Regions from separate parts of the Homo sapiens genome. Here region 2 is linked to region 1. Evidence: promoter capture Hi-C in human tissues and cell types (Jung and others, 2019). All regions are on one chromosome and are shown on one strand. Each heading gives the region's core, a stretch centred on a gene start or on the middle of the fragment in contact. The rest is flanking DNA. Distances are from core to core; before and after follow the strand shown. Region 1 holds the start of SPATA2 (spermatogenesis associated 2). Region 2 has its middle 42 kb from the start of SNORD12.

The links. Contacts are between HindIII fragments. The study calls those that stand out against the background at their distance.
Region 2: a fragment that was not itself captured here is called in contact with the fragment with the promoter of SPATA2 in region 1 in 2 of the 25 tissues and cell types used here (H1 embryonic stem cells and lymphoblastoid cells).

Annotation. Positions count from the first base shown.
Region 1 is chr20:49,912,281-49,917,777 of GRCh38, forward strand. It overlaps SPATA2 (spermatogenesis associated 2), which reads right to left and starts at 3,249. Exons shown (of 3, transcript NM_006038.4): 1 at 3,100-3,249. LOC105372653 (a long non-coding RNA gene) reads left to right here and starts at 3,542. Exons shown (of 3, transcript NR_134564.1): 1 at 3,542-3,805. RefSeq lists enhancers at 2,267-2,436, 3,231-3,290 and a silencer at 2,951-3,200. The HindIII fragment of the contact is 5,477 bases long and covers 1,355-5,497 here.
Region 2 is chr20:49,319,512-49,325,008 of GRCh38, forward strand. No RefSeq gene overlaps it. Among named protein-coding and RNA genes, the nearest start is that of SNORD12, 42 kb to the left of the region's middle. RefSeq lists enhancers at 1-106, 4,217-4,718, 4,719-5,218. The HindIII fragment of the contact is 6,734 bases long and covers 1-5,497 here.

The sequences.
Region 1 (5,497 bases), core at 1,999-4,498:
CCGCCTCTACTAAAAATACAAAAATTAGCTGGACGAACACCTGTAATCCCAGCTACTCAGGAGGCTGAGGCAGGAGAATGGCGTGAACCCAGGAGGGAGAGGTTGCAGTGAGCTGAGATCGTGCCATTGCACTCCAGCCTGGGCAACAGAGCAAAAACTCCATCTCTACATAAATAAATGTATTGCACCACTGGAGAGGATAGTCACACATGCATTTACCATTCTTGACTTATCTAAGAGAAGCTGCCATCACGCCTCTGGCCCCAGGGTCTGTTTTTTGGTAGTCTGAGAACCATTCAAACACAGAGACATTAAGCTTCCGAATACTGCTGTAATTTTTCTCCAAGGAAGTCAGCCTTGAACTCAAAGAGACTGATTTTTTACAAAGTCAGCCAGTCTCAAGCTCGGCTCAGCGTCTGCTGCTCTATAATCGCACCACAGTCCACACCCTTGTTTGTTGCTGAAAAACAATAAATAAAGGAAAGGGATCCAAACAGCCCAGCTGATGTTCAAAATACTCACAATAAGGACAGGAAGCCTATCTAAAACAAATCTCAAACCAACCTGGGTAGGTGAGGGAAAAGGCGGAAGAAAGTAAAAGCTAAAAGATAATTAAGGGCAAGACAAGCCTGGACAACATAGTTAGACTCCGTCTCTACAAAAAAAAAAAAAAAAAAAATTAGGTGGGTGTGGTGACACCCACCTGTAGTCTTAGCTACTTGGGAGTCTGAGGTGGGGGGATCCACTGAGCCCAGGAGTTTGAGGCTGCAGTGAGCTATGATGGCACCACTGCACTCCGGCCTGGGTGACAGAGCAAGACCTTGTCTCAATCAGTCAATAAGGAAAGGAAAGAAAGAGACTAACAATTACTGAGGTTCTACTATGTGCTAAGCATTGGGCTTCCCACTTTACCTACATCATCCCATTTAATCCTCACAACTCTATAAGGAAAACAGGCTCTTCCCATTAAAACAACCTGCCCAACAGAGTTTGAAAGGGTCAGAGCTGGAATCTGAACTCTTGCTGGGAGGCCCTTGATGCCTGGGCTTTCTCCAATTTACCTCACTCATTTATTGTTACATCAGTACCATTTACCAAGGGATTACTGTGTGGCATCCCTCTGCTAACTGCTCTGTGAAAACCAATGAAATCCACAGGATAGATCCAAGGTTAAAGAGGAAACTGAGGCTCGGAGAGGCCAACTCACTTACCCTAAGTCGTAAGGCTAGGAAGAAGTGGATCTGAGCTCTGAACCTAGGTCTAACGCCAAAACTCCGACTCTTGCAAAGCCATCCTGCTGCATCTGCTGGACAGCTCTACTCGAAAGTGTTTGGCTAAGTTAGAATGCCTTATGGCGGCGCGAGCAGAGTTGAGTTACAAAAATTCCTGTAGTAGCAAAATTCCCATCTTCCCACACCGAATGGGGCTAGGAGAGCTAATCTCTATATGATGTAAGCTCAAGGGCCAAGGAAAGAGGCTGGTCAGAGACATCGGCCAGTGATGAAGCAGCTGACATCATCCCTGCTGAAAACATTTTCTGAGAATACAAGATGCCTTGTAGCTGGTCATAGCTGGTGTTTTTTCTGAGCACAGAGCCAGCAATTCATTCCCAGCACTCTGCAAGAACAACAAAATACGCTCTCTGCAAAAACATCGTGGTTACAGGAGACCGAGACAGCCCAGCGACAGAAGCTGCTAATTTCTCCAAGCAACCCAAGGATTGGAACGCCAAGCCGTGCCAGTCTGGTGGAAAAAAAAAAAAAAAAAAACCCAAAAAACAAAAAAACAGCACTGTGAATATCCTGAACACAGAGACAGGCAGGTGCCCAGAGTCAACGGCTCCAGTCAGCACCTCCTGCACCCACAATCTAGGTACCTTCTTGAAAAGCAAGTCAATGGAAAAAGAGATATTGCACAGTCAGGGAGCCAGTGGCTTCTTTAGTTATTTTTTGAACATCTAAGAGGAAAGCTGTATCTGTTTAGAGTCCCACTGCATGGAAGTGAAGTGATTCCGAGTAGCTAAGCATTAGCTTGGCTTTACCTCAGCTGGCCCATTCAAGCAGAAATGTTCCCCAAGCAGCATTTGAAGGCGCCCCCTCTCTGCACAGGCAGACCTATTTTGGTCTGTGCACTGCCCCTGTCCACAGGTTTACACATCCCTGGTCTAGCTCCATCAGCCTCCAAACAGGAGACGGGGAAGTCAGTTCAACCCCCTCCACCTCCCCACCCACACCAATGCACTCGTTCCAAGCAAGAGGCTCCGAGAAACATCCAAGGCACCTTCCACTGGCTGTGAAACACCAGAAGGTCCCCACACTCCTACTAGATTCCAAAGAAATTCACACAGAGTCCTTCCAAACCTCTGAAAATAACCTCAGCGGTGCTGAAAGAAGCTTCCCTAGTGGCAGCTGCCTCTCTCGGAGAAGCTCTGAAGGAAGCTGTTTCCCTCCCTGCAGGGGACAGAAGCTGGCGGCTGCTAAGTCCCAGCTCGGTCATTCCTACAGCCTCGGGGGGCCACGTCAGTTGTGAAAAACAGCCCAGTCTCAAATTCTGGCCCCCCCTACGGCTTCGTGAATTGAATGAAGTAACAGGAACTATCACTTATTGGACGCCTGCTGTATGCCAGAGGCCCTGCATGATCTCATTCCATCTCCACTCCAGCCCTAGCAACCAGGTTCAATCACTTAAATAGGCAACTGAGGCTCTTAAGATGAAGTGACTTATCCAAGGTCACACAGTGAGTACAAACCCAGGTGTGCCGCCAGAGCCTGAACTGGGAACCCCTGCGCGGTAACTGCCTCGTGGCGAAATCGGGGTGTCCTTCTGTTTGGCCAGTCGCCGAAGAGGGGTGTTCCTCTTGGGCGGCCCTGAGCCACCCTCGGCGGGTCCCAGGAGCCTGCGAGGCAGCTCCCGGGAGAATGGGGGTCCTGAGGATAGGCTGGGGGTCCCGGGAGCGCCGAAACAGCGGGCCCACCTGTAGTCCTGCCTGCCGTGAGGGTACCCCGCTCCCGGGCCAGCCGAGCCCTGCCGCTGTCTGGCGCCCCCTCCGCCTGGGGAAGCCCCGAAGGCAGTTTCCGCCCGCGGCCGCCCGTCACTCACCCTGACACTGCCGCCGAGGACGGCCCGGCCGAGGGAAGCAAGCGAGAGGCGCGGCTGCCGCCGGAGCCGGGCCCCGTCGGGCTCTAGCCTCTCCGGCCGGCTGCAGGGGTACTGAGACCAGTACCCGGGGGCCAGCAGCGACCCGGAAACACTCGGCCCGGAAATGATGTCACCATGAGGCGGGCCCGAAGAGAGGGTGGACCACGGCTGCGCGCTGGCTCCGGGAAGCGGTCGATGCCCGCGGCCGACGGAGACTACAACCCAGAGGCGGAGGACAAAGCGGAAGGCCGAAGAGCGAGGACGAAACCGGCGGAACCGCACTTTGGAGCCTAACGAGCCATCGCTGCGTCTGAGACTGGGACCCGGAAGTAAACAGGCCGGACGTGACGCAAGCCGCTCGGCCTAGGGATGGTGGCTGGCCGGGTTGTCATGGAAACCGCTCAGGAGCAGGGAGCTGGGAGCTATGAGTGCTGACTGCGTGAACTCGGCCTCCACTTCCCGGACCTGCCACTTATCATGATCCACGAGCTGTACTCATGACTCCGCACAAGCAAGCAGGGGCTGACGGTCGGATCCCTCGCCCCCATTTTACGGACAGAAGTACCGAGGCTCAAAGAGAGCCAGTGAGATGCTGAAATCACGCGTGATTGGAATCCAGCCTTGCTAGGGCTGCGGGTGTTACGGGCCGTGGGCGGCGGTTAAGAGCGTGGGTTCTATTTTTAGTTTTGCCACTTACTAGCTGTGTGACCTTGGACAAGTTACCTAACCTCTCTGAGCCTCAGCTTTCTAACCTGTAATATTAAATAATAAAGCCAGGCGTGGTGGCACGCGACTGTAGTCCCAGCTAGTCGGGAGGCTGAGGCGAGAGGATGGCTTGCTCCCAGGTGTTCGAGACCAACCTGGGCAACATAACGAGGCCACGTCTCTTAAAAAAAAAAAAAAAAAAAAAAAAAAAAAAAAGCCGGGCACGGCGGCTCACGCCTGTAATCCCAGCACTTTCGGATAAACTATATATATATATAATCTGACATCCCCACCAGACCCTGAGCTTCTTATTCATCTATTTCCCCCCGAGCTCTGCACATGTCTGATGAGGAGGCACACAACAGATGTTCATTGATTGTAGGATTCTCACTCTGAGTCTTGGTGACCCCAGCTAAAACCGGTGGGGCTTGTGTGATGAGTCAGTGACACAATACTGGGAAACGTTTGGAGAACCAGCAATCTGCTGCTGTCCAAACAGTAGCATTACTGTGTTTACCTGTCGTTGCCTGAGCACCGCTCAAAGTCCCTGTGTTCTTTATCAGCTCATGTTTAAGCTCCTCTCTTAATTATCTGCAATGTGATGATGTTCACAGGAATTCCATCTGAGACAAACTGTCCCACCTTAAGTCTGCCTCTTACAGCAACTCAGCACTCTGGTTTGGTAGCTCTTACAATATTGCATTTTCACGTGGGGCTGCTTAAAAAAGTCCCCTCCAGCTCTGTGGGTCTATGACAGGCAAAAGAGAAACAAAGATTTTGAAGAAGGGCTTTACCAGTAGGAAACCCTGGTCATCATCTACTATCAGAAAAGACCCAAAGTCTCCAAAGACAGTCACATTTCTCAGTTTTTTTTTTTTTTTTTTTTTTTTTTGAGACGGAGTCTCGCTCTGTCACCCAGGCTGGAGTGCAGTGGCACAATCTCAGCTCACTGCAAGCTCCGCCTCCTGGGTTCACGCCATTTTCCTGCCTCAGCCTCCGGAGTAGCTGGGACTACCGGCACGCGCCAACACGCCTGGCTAATTTTTTGTATTTTTAGTAGAGATGGGGTTTCACCAAGGTGGTCAGGATGGTCTCCATCTCTTGACCTCGTGATCCGCCCACCTCGGCCTCCCAAAGTGCTGGGATTACAGGCCTGAGCCACTGTGTCCGGCCATGTTTCTCATCTTTTAAACACAGTTGAAGGCTTGTGATTTCTCTACTTGGTGATGTAGAAATGACAGGAGCGTCCTTTCCCGACTTTATTATATAATGATTACCAGATTATGTAAGGGTCACGTGACAATGATTAGGCACTTCTACTTCCGAAGAGCCAACAACACGAACAATCTACCTACCTCTTTCTATTTTTTAGTTTTTTTTTCCATCACCAAAGTAATACATGATTCCAACAATACAGAGGAGTATAGAACAAAAAGCAAAACAGAAAAGCTACCCCATGACCCAGCAATTGGATTTCTCAAAATCTGCTAGAGAAACATACACTGTGCCCAAAGAGACCTCTTGCATCATTGTTTCTAATGCAAAAGCAATAATAGGAAATATTTAAATCTCCATCACTGGGGTAATGGTATATCCATACTAACAAATACTGTGGATCACTTAAAAAGGGTGATGCATGGCCAGGCGCGGTGGC
Region 2 (5,497 bases), core at 1,866-4,365, 590 kb before region 1:
GAGGCGGAACGGTCTGAGTGATTCCAAAACTAGTGTGTCCAAGCTGGTTAGAACTCAGGCAGGCGGGTCCAGAAGCCGAGGGGCCTGACAGATACGCAGGTGAAGTCCATCTGTGGTCCGCGTGCTGGGCGTGGCCACCGGGCTAGTCCAAGCATTCCTGGTAAAGGCTCCTCCAGAGTGGTACCCACAGCGCTCTATTAAGGGCTATTTTAGTTGAGTCATTAGTGGGAAGGACGCTGCCTATCCCCTCCCCCCCCGCCACCCCACTCCCTTCTTCTAGAGATGGAGCCTTGCTCTGTCGCCCAGGCTGGAGTGCCGTGGTGCGATCATCATTCACTGCAGCCTCGAACTCCTGGGCTCAAGCGATTCTTCTGCCTCAGCCTCCCAAGTAGCTGGATGACAGGCACGCACCACCATGTCTGGCTCTCTATCCTTTTTAAATCCCAGAAGTAAAGTTTTCACACCCACTGGAGACAAAAAAAAAATCTAAATTCTGTCACCCTGTAAAACGGTTATGACCCAACTTTCCTATGTCAGGGAGGAAAGTGATTGATTGGGCCCCTCTACCGTGTGATATCACTAGAGCTTCCTTCAGAAATTTGTTTTAAAAGACAGAGAGGGCGCTTTTAAAAAAATGCATAATGGGTCGGGCACAGTGGCTCATGCTTGTAATCCCAACACTTGGGGAGGCTGTGGGAGGATCATTTGAGGCCAGGAGTTCGAGACCAGCCTGGGCAATATTGGAAGACCCAGTCTCTACAAAAAATTAAAAAAAAATTAGCCTCAAATGGTGATGACTGCCTGTAGCACCAGCTACTCAGGAGACTGAGGTGGGAGAATCACTTGAGCCCAGGAGGTTGAGCCTGCAGTGAGCTATGATTATGCCACTGCACTCCAGCCTGGGTGACAGAGCGAGATCATGTCTCAAAAATAAATAAATAAATAAATAAATAAATAAAAATGTAAGGGACCTAACATCCATTAATCACCTATCCCTCTGTGCCCAGAAGCTGGGCTGGATGTCCCCTGGAACCTGAATACATTCTCCCTGCCCTCTGGGGTTCAGGTATGGAATAACATCCCTGTTTAGCAGTCAAGAAAAGCAAGGCTCAGAGAGGAGAGGGCTTTGGGCAGTCAAGAATTCCCAGCCAGTGGAGGAGCTGGGTCTGATTCTGAGTCTTCTAGCTCCTTGCTGCCAGGAGTGGCCAACGTTGGAAATTCAGGCAGCAGTGAGATGAGAAAGTAATTTTGGATGTGGTGTCTTCTCAAGCCATAGGCAAAAGAGAACTCCTTCCAGATTAAATTTGGGGAAGGACTGCCTGGGGGTGCTTTTGTACTGGTTGGTTTTCTGTGTAGAGAGTTCATGCAGCCGCGGGTCTGTACTGATTGGAGCTGAAGTCCCAGGTTAGCACCACCAACAGGGGCTCCCCTGCCACAGCGCAGGAGTGGGGGCCCAGGATGGGTCCAGGCAAAGGCATCAGTGATACTTTCTCATGGTCTGACCGACACCCACAGAATCACACAATGTTAGCCCCTCCCAAGAGATGTCCTTTCTATACGGAGTGGGGGCTGGAGGAACCAGGAGCCTCAAAGCTTTGCTTTCACCTTTGTTTTGCTCTTTTGGGATCTGCCTCCTTATCTGGAGCAGGGTCTTGTGAAGAGACGCAGGGAAAAGTTCACTTTCCACCTCCCAGGGGAGCAGGCAGGAGGGGACTAGTTAGGAGGCAAAAGATGTAGAGAAGTATTTGCTTTTTTCATGGGCTATTTTTAGGAGATAAAGTCAACTGCCTTAAGTGATCAATTGTAATAGAGGGAGATGTTGAAGATGACTTAAAAAACAAACAAAATCCGCAAACAACAAATCTAATATTTATGAAATACCAAATGTCAGGAAGGTACTATTTTAAGTGCTTGAAGTAAATTGTCTCATTTAAGCCTCATAATAACGCTATGGAACAGTGTTATCATGTCTGTTTTACAGATGAGGAACTAAGGCACAGAGAGGTTAAGTGACGTGTTCTGGGTTGCACAGCTCTTAAACAGCAGATCTGGGATTTGCACTCCAGCAGTCTGACTCCAGATCTCAATATTGTATAGCAGCTCAAGGGTGGCAGAGACTCAAGAATGTTAGGAGAGGGAAGCTTGAGTCTACAGGTGTAAGGAGACCCCTTGACATCTTCCCCATTTAGTTCAATTAAAATTTTCTTTTTTTTTCTTTTTCTTTCTTTCCTTCCTTCTCTCTTTTCTTTTCTTTTTCTCTCTCTCTTTCTTCCTTCCTTTCTTTTTATTTTTCAGGGTTTCACTGTGTCACCCAGGCTGGAGTGCAGTGGTGCAATCATGGCTCACTGCAACCTCTGCCTCCCAGGCTCAAGTGATCCTCCTACCTCAGTCTCCTGAGTAGCTGGGACTACAGGTGTGGGCCACCACACCCAGCTTTTTTTTTTTTTTTTTTTTTTTTTTTTTGTATTTTTTGTAGAGATGGAGTTTTACCATCTTTTCCAGGCTGGTCTCAAACTCCTGGGCTCAAGCTATCCTCCAGCCTTGGCCTCCCAAAGTGCTGGAATTACCAGTGTGAGCCTCCACACCCAGCCTCAATTACAATTGGTGGCCACCTTCTGTGTGCCCAATTCAGCTAGAAGCACTGGGGGATGGAAGCAAGGCTGGAGTTCTGGTACCCCTCAAGCTTATTGTCTATTTTTGGGAGACAAGGTAGTTGGGAAAGGAATAAATAATTTCAGTCTGAGCAAGGTGAAGCTTGGAAATGATTGGTGAGGATGGTGTGGAGGCAGGGAGAGAGTGGGGCTGGAGTGATTAGTAAGGCCTTGAAAGATAGACACCACTGTATTTTCCAAGTTATTTACAGAATGTTTCCATGTATTCTATACTTCTTAAATATCATCTCAACCCTGTATGGTTGATGTCCCTACATATACACTTATGTGTTTCCTGTAGACTTAGTACTCTTAGGGTTGTGACACAATTTAACTTAAGTTAACAAGGATATTTATTGGCTTAGGTAACTAAAGAACAACCCAGGGATTCCAGAGCTTCAGGCATGACTGGATCCAGGGGCTCCAAGGATGTCATCAGGACTCTATCTCTTTCCATTCTTCGGCTTTTCTTGTGTTAACTTCATTTACAGGCATGCTGTCACCAAGTGGTAGCAAAGCTAGTGGTCAAAGACAGTAGCTGTAAACTGCCATCCTTAATGGATTGAGAGCATTTTTCCCCAGTTCCAGCCAAAATCCCAGGGCTGGTTCTCATGGGCTCAGTTTGGATTAAATGGTCATTGCTGACCCAATCAATCACTGAACCCAGGGAGAAGGAATATATCAACTGGCCATGTGGGGGTCACCTGCCTCATACCAGGAACGAGAGGGTGCGATCAGCCCTGTCCAAACCATGTGGATTGAGAGTGGGGAGTTTTGGTTTCTCAGAAGAAAACTGAGGTGGTATTCCCAGAAGATGGGGGAAAGGAGGCTGGGAGGGTACTACTCAGCTGTGGGAGACCACGTGCTTTGGGAAACTTTGGGTAAAGTGTGCTGAGATGTTGAATAGGAGGAGGGCACGGTAAATGACTGTGGATGAGTTGCAGGAAAATGTAGATTTTTAGCCACTGAGCTTGGGGGTCTCCATCTATGATCCACTGTCAAAAAAGATCCTTCGTGAACCCCCTCAATAGGAGATGGGAACCACTGAGGGATTTCAGGGAACAGGCCAGAACTGTATTCTAGAAAATCCTTTTGGTAGACAATAAGGAGGGCAGATGGTAAGGAGGCTGGGCAGTGTGGTTCAGAGGAGAAAGCGGGGTTTGGATAATGCAGAAAGACATTCCTTGGCTGGGCCCCGTGGCTCATGCCAGCATTTTGAGAGGCTGAGGTGGGTGGATCACAAGGTCAGGAGTTTGAGACCAGCCTGGCCAACATAGTGAAACCCTGTCTCTACTAAAAATACAAAAATTAGCTGGGTGTGGTGGCACGTGCCTATAGTCCCAGCTACTCCGGAGGCTGAGGCAGGAGGATCGTTTGAACCTGGGAGGCGGAGGTTGCAGGGAGCCGAGATGGTGCCACTGCACTCCAGCCTGGGCGACAGAGAGAGACTCCATCTTAAAAAAAAAAAAAAAAAAAAAAAAAGGTGTTCCTTCATGAGCCTGGGCCTGTAAGGGTGGGGTGAAGCGATTCTAAGGGGTCTGTGGGAAATGTGGTCTGGCCATGGCAGGCTCAGCTGGCACGATGTCATCTGGGTATCCAGGACTCAGTGAGCAGCCTTACCACCGCCCTACCCCTTTCTGTAAGGCTGGGAAGCTAGAATTTCTTCTTTGGTCAGGAAAAGTGGGCTGGGCTTTGCTTTGAGAAACACTGCTATCTGGTGTTGCCTTTTTGCAATGTCAGCCTGTGGTTATATTTCCTTTGTTGTTGCTAAGGCAAGATTTGCTCACTCATTGTTCAGTGGCACATCACTTCCTGAGTTGCTGTGTGCCAGGCCCTGTGCTTGGTGATGGGATACAGCAGGGAACATGACAAATGAGGACCCTATTGTTGTGGAGCTGACACTCTAATGGAGGAGGCAGACACTACGAGAATAACCACAGATGTACTGAGTTTGTGATCCTGGGCCTATGCGAGGGGTGATGATGGTTCCCTCTTGTGTGCGTGCTGCCAGTGAGACGGGTAGAACACGTGCAGGGTGGTGCCTGCCTAATTTTCCGCAAAATCTCTCACCTGCCTGGCAGGCAGGGCAGGAGATCGTGGTGGACTTTGGGGATACCCCTTGGTCCAGCTGTCCAGCCAGTGCCTGAATCTGGTCTGCAGTCTTCCTGCCAGGTTTTTTAGCCACATTGTGAACACTTTCAGTGACACAAAACTCATTCTTCTAGCAGCTTCTTCTACTGTAGATAATCCTTTCTCTCCTGGGAAACCGCAGGAGCCATCATGCTTCTGCCCTCACCCCCACCCAGAGAGATGGGCAGTCATCCTTTTGAAACCTTTGGTATCACCACGTCACATCTCTGCTCAGAACTCGGCAATGGCTTTTCGTCATGCCTAGAATAAAATCTGAACTCCTTACAACAGTCCTCAAGGCCCTATATGCTATCTTTGTCCCCTCCCTCTCTGATGTCACCTCCTACCACTTTTCCTCTGGCTTATTTTCCTGCAGCGACACTGGCCTCCTCACTGTCCCTCTGATATCCTACCTTTACCCTGCCTCAGCGACTTTGCACTGCCTGTTTTGTGCCTGGAATACAGTTCCCTTCCTACACAGTTCCCTTCATCACTTTCTTGGGGGCTCTGTTCAGATGTCCTTGTCTTGGAGGACTTCCTTGACTCCTGCCTAAAATAGTTTCTTGTTACACCACCCTTGGCACTCTTTCTTTTTTTCCCTGCCTCTCTCTCAACCCTGGCCACTCTTGACCTGCTGTTTTTTCTCAAAGCACAGATCACTAGTTGAAATTACATGGTTGCATGTTATTGTTTATTGTCTGTTTCCCCCACTGAAT